Regions from separate parts of the Homo sapiens genome. Here region 2 is linked to region 1. The links are contacts of gene promoters, found by promoter capture Hi-C in human tissues and cell types (Jung and others, 2019). All regions are on one chromosome and are shown on one strand. Each heading gives the region's core, a stretch centred on a gene start or on the middle of the fragment in contact. The rest is flanking DNA. Distances are from core to core; before and after follow the strand shown.

The links. Contacts are between HindIII fragments. The study calls those that stand out against the background at their distance.
Region 2: a contact is called between a fragment that was not itself captured here and the fragment with the promoter of MPV17 in region 1, in 1 of the 25 tissues and cell types used here (H1 embryonic stem cells).

What each region holds. Positions count from the first base shown.
Region 1 is chr2:27,321,341-27,325,336 of GRCh38, forward strand. It overlaps MPV17 (mitochondrial inner membrane protein MPV17), which reads right to left and starts at 1,757. Exons shown (of 8, transcript NM_002437.5): 1 at 1,712-1,757; 2 at 1,108-1,182. The coding sequence starts at 1,177. RefSeq lists enhancers at 1,152-1,201, 1,212-1,301, 1,312-1,361, 1,412-1,471, 1,594-2,566 and 2 more. The HindIII fragment of the contact is 20,851 bases long and covers 1,452-3,996 here.
Region 2 is chr2:25,782,539-25,786,507 of GRCh38, forward strand. All of the region lies in intron 5 of ASXL2 (ASXL transcriptional regulator 2), which reads right to left. Among named protein-coding and RNA genes, the nearest start is that of ASXL2, 94 kb to the right of the region's middle. The HindIII fragment of the contact is 8,065 bases long and covers 1-3,969 here.

The DNA of each region.
Region 1 (3,996 bases), core at 507-3,006:
AGACTGGAGAGGGGCCCAGGGAAGGGCCAAAGAATCCATCTCCTGGCCATTCATGCAGTTAAGTTTCTGTGCCGATGCAGGGCTGTTCTGGTCACAGGATCCCTGTTCCACTCTGGCCTTCAGTAGCCCCCAATCCCTTCCAATAGTCCTCTTCTCAGAAGGCCAGTCATCACTAGAATCCTGTTCCCCTTCTCTAAACATGGGCAAGACCTCATCTTAATGTGATCACTCTTTGCACCCCAATGTTCTAAGGCCTTCTGACATTCCCCCTCTAAGACTTACTTATCTTCATGCCATCCTCTTACATTAGCTAACTTGCAAAATGAAGATGGTAACAAATGCAGGTAGGTCACTGCATTACCTCTGTGAGGTTAGTACTCAATCACTGCATTTGGAGTGACTGGTATCTGATCACTCCAAATGGATCAGGATGGAGTGATCAGATACCAATATACTAACCTTGGAGATACATATTTAGGCAGTAAATGATAACAAAAGCAAATGAACGATATAAACAAAACTCAGGAAATTTTGGGTGAATTACGGAGAGGCACTCAAGAGGTCTCAAAGCTGATTACTGACACAGGAGTGTTCAGTTTTAATGCCATTTAAACTGTACATACACATCTTAATCATTCTTTTGTATGTTTCACAATAAAAAATACCAAGAAAAACTGGGGTAAGAGTCTTGATTCAGCACTTATTAGGTGTGATCTAATGTGGACTCAAGTAACCCTCCTAGCTCACACACCTTTGTGGGGGCCCTATGCCATAACGTATATGAAAGTGCTTTGCATACGGTAAAATGTTTTCCAAGTTGAGGCCTCCTGGGGCAATGCCTTTATCCTTCAGGGCTGACTGTTCAGCTTTTTGAGGACTTTGAAATCCTAAAACCCTACTGCACAGCTTGGCCAACTACGCATACCCCTTAAAAACAGCCTTGGGGACCACCCTCCAAAACAGACTGGGGACAGTGTAGGATGAAAGACAGCCAACCCTTCAAGAGAGCCGAATAGAAACAGGAAGTGAGGGTGGTGCAGTGGGGCAAGCCTCTGGCTTCCAAATCAGTCTGCCCTGGTCCCACTCAAGTCCTAGAGGGACACTCACCAGCTGTCAGGACCTGTACTTTCCACGGGTGAGCGGCCAGGGCCCGCTGGTATGCCCGCCAGAGTGCCATGCTTCCTGTCAAGCCAAGAGGAGAGGGGGTCACCCCCACCGTCCCTCTCCACGACTAAGAAGCCGCCTGACATTCCCTTGTGCCCACTCCCTTCCCCTTCCCACTTCCAATGTGACTTAAAGGGGCAGAGGCCACATGAAGGATGCTTCCCAGACAGCTTCCTGTCGCAGGAGTCGCCTTAGACAATTGGGGAAGAGAGAAAGGCTGTGGGAAGCTATGGACTCCTGGTAGCAGCCACCAGCCACCCCAACCTCATTCCTGAAGCCAGACCACCTGGAAGCCTCCGTTCCCGACGGAGACACTCATGAGGACAGCTTTGCTCTGGCTTCTACCCAGAGCTTGGGTGCCTCAAAAGATAGCTTGGTCCGTCTCCAGATTCAGACTTGGTTGGAACCAGTTTGTAACCTTCCTGAGTCCAGCTCCAAACCGAAAATAGGGCCCGTCACTGCCCGGATATAGGATGACCACACACCTTGTGGGCACTCATGGCTTGCGACGCTTTAAGCCAGAGACCGCAGATCACCCGCCACTCACCTGAGCGCCGAGCCTCCCTCCCACGTGACAGGCTGGCCTAGGAACTTCCGCCACAAGTCCCGCCCCTTCCTCCCAGCGTCCTTCGGATTACGCAGCCAGGACAGGAATGGGGGTGGACCGAGCCATGAATACCCGTGGAGAGCGGCCTAACTCGGCCACCCACTCTGTGAGAGACCCCTTTTCCAGCTGGACTGTGCCGGACCCTGGTGTGGGGCCCGCCAGCCATATTTCTCACCTAAGTTCGACCCTCTGCCTCCTCCTGCCCCTTCTCTCCGCGCGAGACCCGGGCCTCTCTCAATCCGGTAGTCTCATTGTTCAGCCCACCCTCCCCGCATAACTGGCCATAACTACGATCCTTGTCTCAGCAATCGTAGTTAGGGAACTATAAGTTATAGTTAAGTGCGTGTTTTGTCTCTAGGTTCTTCACTGGCCTCAACTGTGAGCTCATGAGTGGGTAAAACTGGGGTCGTTCATATTTGTCGTCCTCATAGCAACTATTTCAGTGCTTTGCCGCAAACAGCCACTTAAGAAATACTGCGTATGTATGATTCTTCCACAGAAAGCATTGGAATTAGAACCTCAGAAGACATTAGGTATTGGCTCCCAAACTAACGGGCTGTGCAGCCTTGGTCATGACTAGACTTGATGTTAAGGCTCTGCATCTGTAAAATGAGGGAGGTTACACTATTGACTTTCCAAACTCGGCTCCTCAGTTCTAGGGATTTTTCAGATGTTTGTGTGTGGGGATGAGAGGGGCAGCATTACTACAGCTGCTTCTCCAACTTTTTTTTCCAAGTATATACTTCTCAAAAGACCCATTTTTAACGGGGCCCACAACTGCATGTTTGAAAACCAGTAAGCTAGGTGATTTCTTAATCCCCTTCCAGCTCTAACATTCTAAGAGTCTGTGAATATAGAGCAATATCCTTTCTAGAGCGTTGGAAATGTCTACAATATCCCTGGCAATGGACTTGTCAGGCTGGCAGGCTTTACTTATCTCCAGGGAGCCCACACGTCAGGAGGCACACTCTTTCAGGCTCTCCACCTGCCCAGCTCCACCCCCAATTTACTCAATTCCTTTATGATTAAGGCAGGGAGACTCCTGCCACAAATCCTGGAGAAACAGAGTAAGGAAGCAAGAGAAGTCAATGTCACAAACATTTAACTAAAATGCTATTTGCAAAACAGCATGCTAGAGGAGTGAACTGACAAAAGTAAATGTAATAGGAGACCAAATGTGGTAGGCTGTAAAGTTATATTCTGAAGTTAGACTGAGTTCAAATCCCCAGCACCACCACTTACTAGTTATATGACCTTGACCTTTTACAGACAGCTTACCCTCTCCAACTCTTTTATCATTAAGTAAAATGGCAATACCTACCTCATACAAGTGACACATGCGAAGTGCCTAAAATGGATCAAGTGCTTAATGCTTGTTTATCCTTTTTCCTCCCTTCCCCCTTGGGAACACAAGGGAGGGAAACTATTTTTTACTGGAGAAAACTGGGAAGCTCTTTGGTGAAGGTGGAATTTGAGCCGGGACCTTGAAGGATGAATTGAACTCAGGTGAAGATGGTGGAAAAAGACACTCTGGCGAAGGGAGGAATATGAGAAGAGGAATAAAGGTAGAGAAGTGTATGAACAATGGATAGTATGAAGTGGGTATATTGGGAGGGAGGGTTAGAAAGAGAAAAGGCTTGTTAGAGAAAAAGAACAAGGTCAAGACTAGGGCTGAGACTCAGTTGCAGAAGCAGGGCTGCCAGCACCAATCTACAGCCTCAAGTGTGGATCCCCAGGTCTCATCTTTTCTACCACTGAAAATAGGAAGGGGGCTGCCCTGTAGAATTGAGTAAAGCTTCTCTTCGACAGAAGGCACTTGCGTAACAGCTCAAAAAACAAAACTGGCTCAATGTGAGCTGGATCCCAATAGGGTAGTGCAACACTTGGCTTCTTTGCACTGACATGGGTTGTGGTCTCTGCTGTTGATAGACTTGGGTTTCCTCCAGGTCTATTTTCTCATCTGTACAGGATAGGGGCTGAACTCTTTTTGAGACGGAGTCTCGCTCCGTCACCCAGGCTGGAGTGCAGTGGCAGGATCTCGGCTCACTGCAACCTCTGCATCCCAGGTTCAAATGATTCTTCTGCCTCAGCCTCCTGAGTAGCTGGGATTGCAGGTGTGTGCCATCACACCTGGCTAATTTTTTACATTTTTGGTAGAGACGGGGTTTCACCATACATTGGCCAGGCTGGTCTTGAACTTCTGACCTCAAGTAATCCGCCTGCCT
Region 2 (3,969 bases), core at 851-3,350, 1.5 Mb before region 1:
CCATCTCAGAAAAAACAAAACAAAACAAAACACCTCTAACATAATGTTAAATAAGAATGGAGATAGTGGACATCTTGTTCTTGACTCATTCTGGCTAAAGGATAAGCCACTAGTGTTCCCCCTTAAGACACTGGTTTCTCAACTCAGTTATAACGTTAAAGAGAAATCCACCAATTCTCAATTTTATTGAGCATAAAATTTATTCAAAGACCTTTTCAGCAAGCATAGAAGTTATGTTTTTTATTCTAGCTCTGTAACAGTGTTTAAAACATTAAGATTATTATCTTTAAACATATGGTTGCATTCTGGCTGGGCATGGTGGCTCACGCCTGTAACCCCAGCACTTTGGGAAGCCAAGGTGGGCGGATCACTTGAGGTCAGGAGCTTGAGACCAACCTGGCCAACATGGTGAAACCCCATATCTACTAAAAATACAAAAAATTAGCCGGGCATGGTGGTGCACACCTGTAATCCCAGCCACTCGGCAGGCTGAGGCAGGAGAATCGCTTGAATCCAGGAGGCGGAGGCTGCAGTGAGCCAAGATCGTACCACTGCACTCCAGCCTGGGGGACAGAATGAGACTCTGTCTCAAAATAAATAAATAAATAAAAATTAAAAAATAAAAATATGATTGAATTTCTCTGAACATGTGGGTACAGTGTTCTTTTGAAGGGGAGTTCTAACACAGGTCTACTTCTATGAAACTCTATTTATACTTTCTATCTCTACTGGGTTCAATTTTTGTGTACTGTATTTTCCTAGAAAAGTATCCCATTTCATCTACAAAGTACTGTGAAAAAGTCTGATGGTTTTTTAATTGTTTTGAAATTTCAACCTGAATTTATATACTCATGGTTTTTTCCTTTAAAAAAAAAAAAGGAGGTTAACAAAGTTTGTCTATTATATTGATTCATTTAAAAACCAACCTTTTCTACCATTTTTCTCTTCTAATTTAGTAATTTCCACCATTTTTTTTATTATAAATTATTTTCTTCAGCTATCTATTAGTTTACTTTATTATTCTTTTTTTTCTAATTTTTAGAGTAGTTTGCTTCTTTTAGTTTGTCCTTATTGACAGGAGGTATTCAGTATTATAAACTGCCTTCCAGACTGGACACAGTGGCTCACACCTGTAATCCCAGTACTTTGGGAGGCCAAAGCGGGTGGGATCACTTGAGTTCGAGACCAGCCTGGGCAACGTGGCAAAATCTTGTCTATGTAAAAAAAAAATACATGGCCGGGTGCGGTGGCTCACGACTGTAATGCCAGCACTTTGTGGGGCTGAGGTGGGAGGATCACGAGGTCAAGAGTTCAAGACCAGCCTGGCCAACATGGTGAAACCCCGACTCTACTACAAATACAAAAATTAGTCGGGCGTGGTGGCACATGCCTGTAATCCCAGCTACTTGGGAGGCTGAGGCAGGAAAATTGCTTGAAATCGGAAGGCGGAGGTTGCAGTGAGCTGAGATCACACCACTGCACTCCAGCCTGGGCGAAAGAGTGAAACTCCATCTCTAAATAAATAAATAAATAAATAAATAAATAAATAAATAAATAAATATAAAGTTAGCCAGGTGCGGTGGCGTGCTGTAGTCCCAGCTACTTGGGGGGCTGAGGCAGGAGGATGACCTGAGCCTAAGAAGTTGAGACTGCACTTGAGTTGTGATCACGCCACTGCCTCCAGCCTGGGTGACAGAGTAAGACCCTGTCTCCCAACTAAAAAAAGAAATTAAGAAAGTAGGTGGCACCAAACCCTTGTATATGTAAGCCTCCTTCAGCTTTGGCTGCAAGTCTCACTTAAGGAAGATAATTAAAATGTTAACAGAAAGATTATGGCAGCAGAGATGATGACTATACAATATTTTAAAAGATTTCATGGGAATATAACATACTGAATACATTGTATAATGAAGAATGAACTTTACTCCCTATGTTAATTCCCCAGACCTGTCATTTTAAAAAGTACATAACCTAGGTGGTATAAAACAAGACACTTATTCCTTCACAGTTCTGGAGGCTGAAAATCCAAAACTGATGTGTCAGCAAGGATGGTTCCTTCTGTGAGATAAGCTATTCCGTCCCTTTCTCTTAGTTTCTGGTAACATCCAGCAATCTTTGGCATTCCTTGGGTTATAGCAGCATCACTTCAACCTCGTCTCCATCGTCACACGGCACTCTCTTCATGTCTCCATGTCTTCATATGACCCATCTTATAAAGACACTAGTCTTAGTGGACTAATGACCCACCCTACTACAGTATGACTTCATCTTAACTAATTAACTCTACAACAGCTCTGTTTCCCAATAAGCACACATTCTGGTGTACCAGAGGTTATGATTTCAATATATCTTTTTGAAGGGGACACAATTTGAAGCATAACACTTGTTTTTATTTAGCCTATTTTCCAGAGCTATACAGATGGTGTGAACTTAACACTGTCATTCATTGAATATAAGCTATTATAGTGCTGCCCAGGCTAATAGAATTTTTCCCCAAGTCAAGGAATTATAAGTATTCTCATTTATTCTAACTCATATTCCCATTCATGTAGGTGAATTATAGACTTGTGATCTGTATGTTTTACCATATTTATGATGAATTTAATTAAAAGTAAAATATCCCTAAAAAGGAACATTTCAGCCCAGGTTTCTATCAGGAAATTCTCCCAAACTTATTTATTTATTTGTTTGTTTGTTTATTTTTTGAGACAGAGTCTCGCTCTGTCTCCCTGGCTGGAGGACAGTGGCACAATCTCAGCTCACTGCAACCTGCGCCTCCCAGCTTCAAGTGATTCTCGTGCCTTGCCTCTGGAGTAGCTGGGATTACAGGCACCCGCCTCCATGTCAGGCCGATTTCTTTATTTTTAGTAGAGATGGGGTTTCACCATGGTGGCCAGGCTGGTCTCAAACTCCTGACCTCAAGTGATTGGCCCACCTCCATTTCCCAAAGTGCTGGGATTACAGGAGTGAGTCACTGTGCCCACCCCCCAAACCTTTTAAGGAAGAAAAACAATCTTTATTTTTTCTGAGACAGAGTCTCATTCCGTCCCCTGGCTGGAGTGCAATGATGCAATCTTGGCTCACTGCAACCTCCACCTCCCAGGTTCAAGCAATTCTCCTGCCTCAGCCTCCCAAGTAGCTGGGATTACAGGTGCCCACCACCACGCCTGGCTCACTTTTGTAATTTTAGTAGAGATGGGACTTCACCATGTTGGCCAGGCTGAGTCTCAAATTCATAACCTTAGGTGATCCACCCACCTCAGCCTCCCAAAGTGCTGGGATTATAGGTGTCAGCCACTGCACCTGGCCTACAAAAACAACAATCTTATACAAATTATTTCAGAGAACCAAAAACCAATTACCAACTTTTTTATGATACCAAATTTTAACAGGGACATTATATGGGGAAAACATGCAGGCAAACCTTAGAGTTAAACGCAAACTATGAGCAAATAAAATCTATGATACAGATGATTAATAATATATCACAACCAAGTTGGTTTATCCAAGGAACACAAGGTTGGTTTAACATTTAATACGTAAAATCAATATAATTCACTACAGGAATTATGTACATGAAGGAAAAGCAACTGATAAAATTCAACATCTGTGTATTAGAAAATCTCTTAGCAAATTACAAATAAAAGGAAACTAACTTCATCTACTAAAAAGTATCTACAAACAACCTACTACTCCACATCATTCTTTTTTTTTTTTTTTTGAGATGGAGTCTTGCTCTGTCACCAGGCTGGAGTGCAGTAGTGCAATTTTGGCTCACTGGAACCTCCGCCTCCCAGGTTCAAGTGATTCTCCTGCCTCAGCCTCCCAGGTAGCTGGGACTACAGGCGCATGCCACCACGCCCGGCTAATTTTTGTATTTTTAGTAGAGATGTGGTTTCACCGTGTTAGCCAGGATGGTCTCGATCTCCTGACCTTGTGATACGCCTGTCTTGGCCTCCTGAAGTGCTG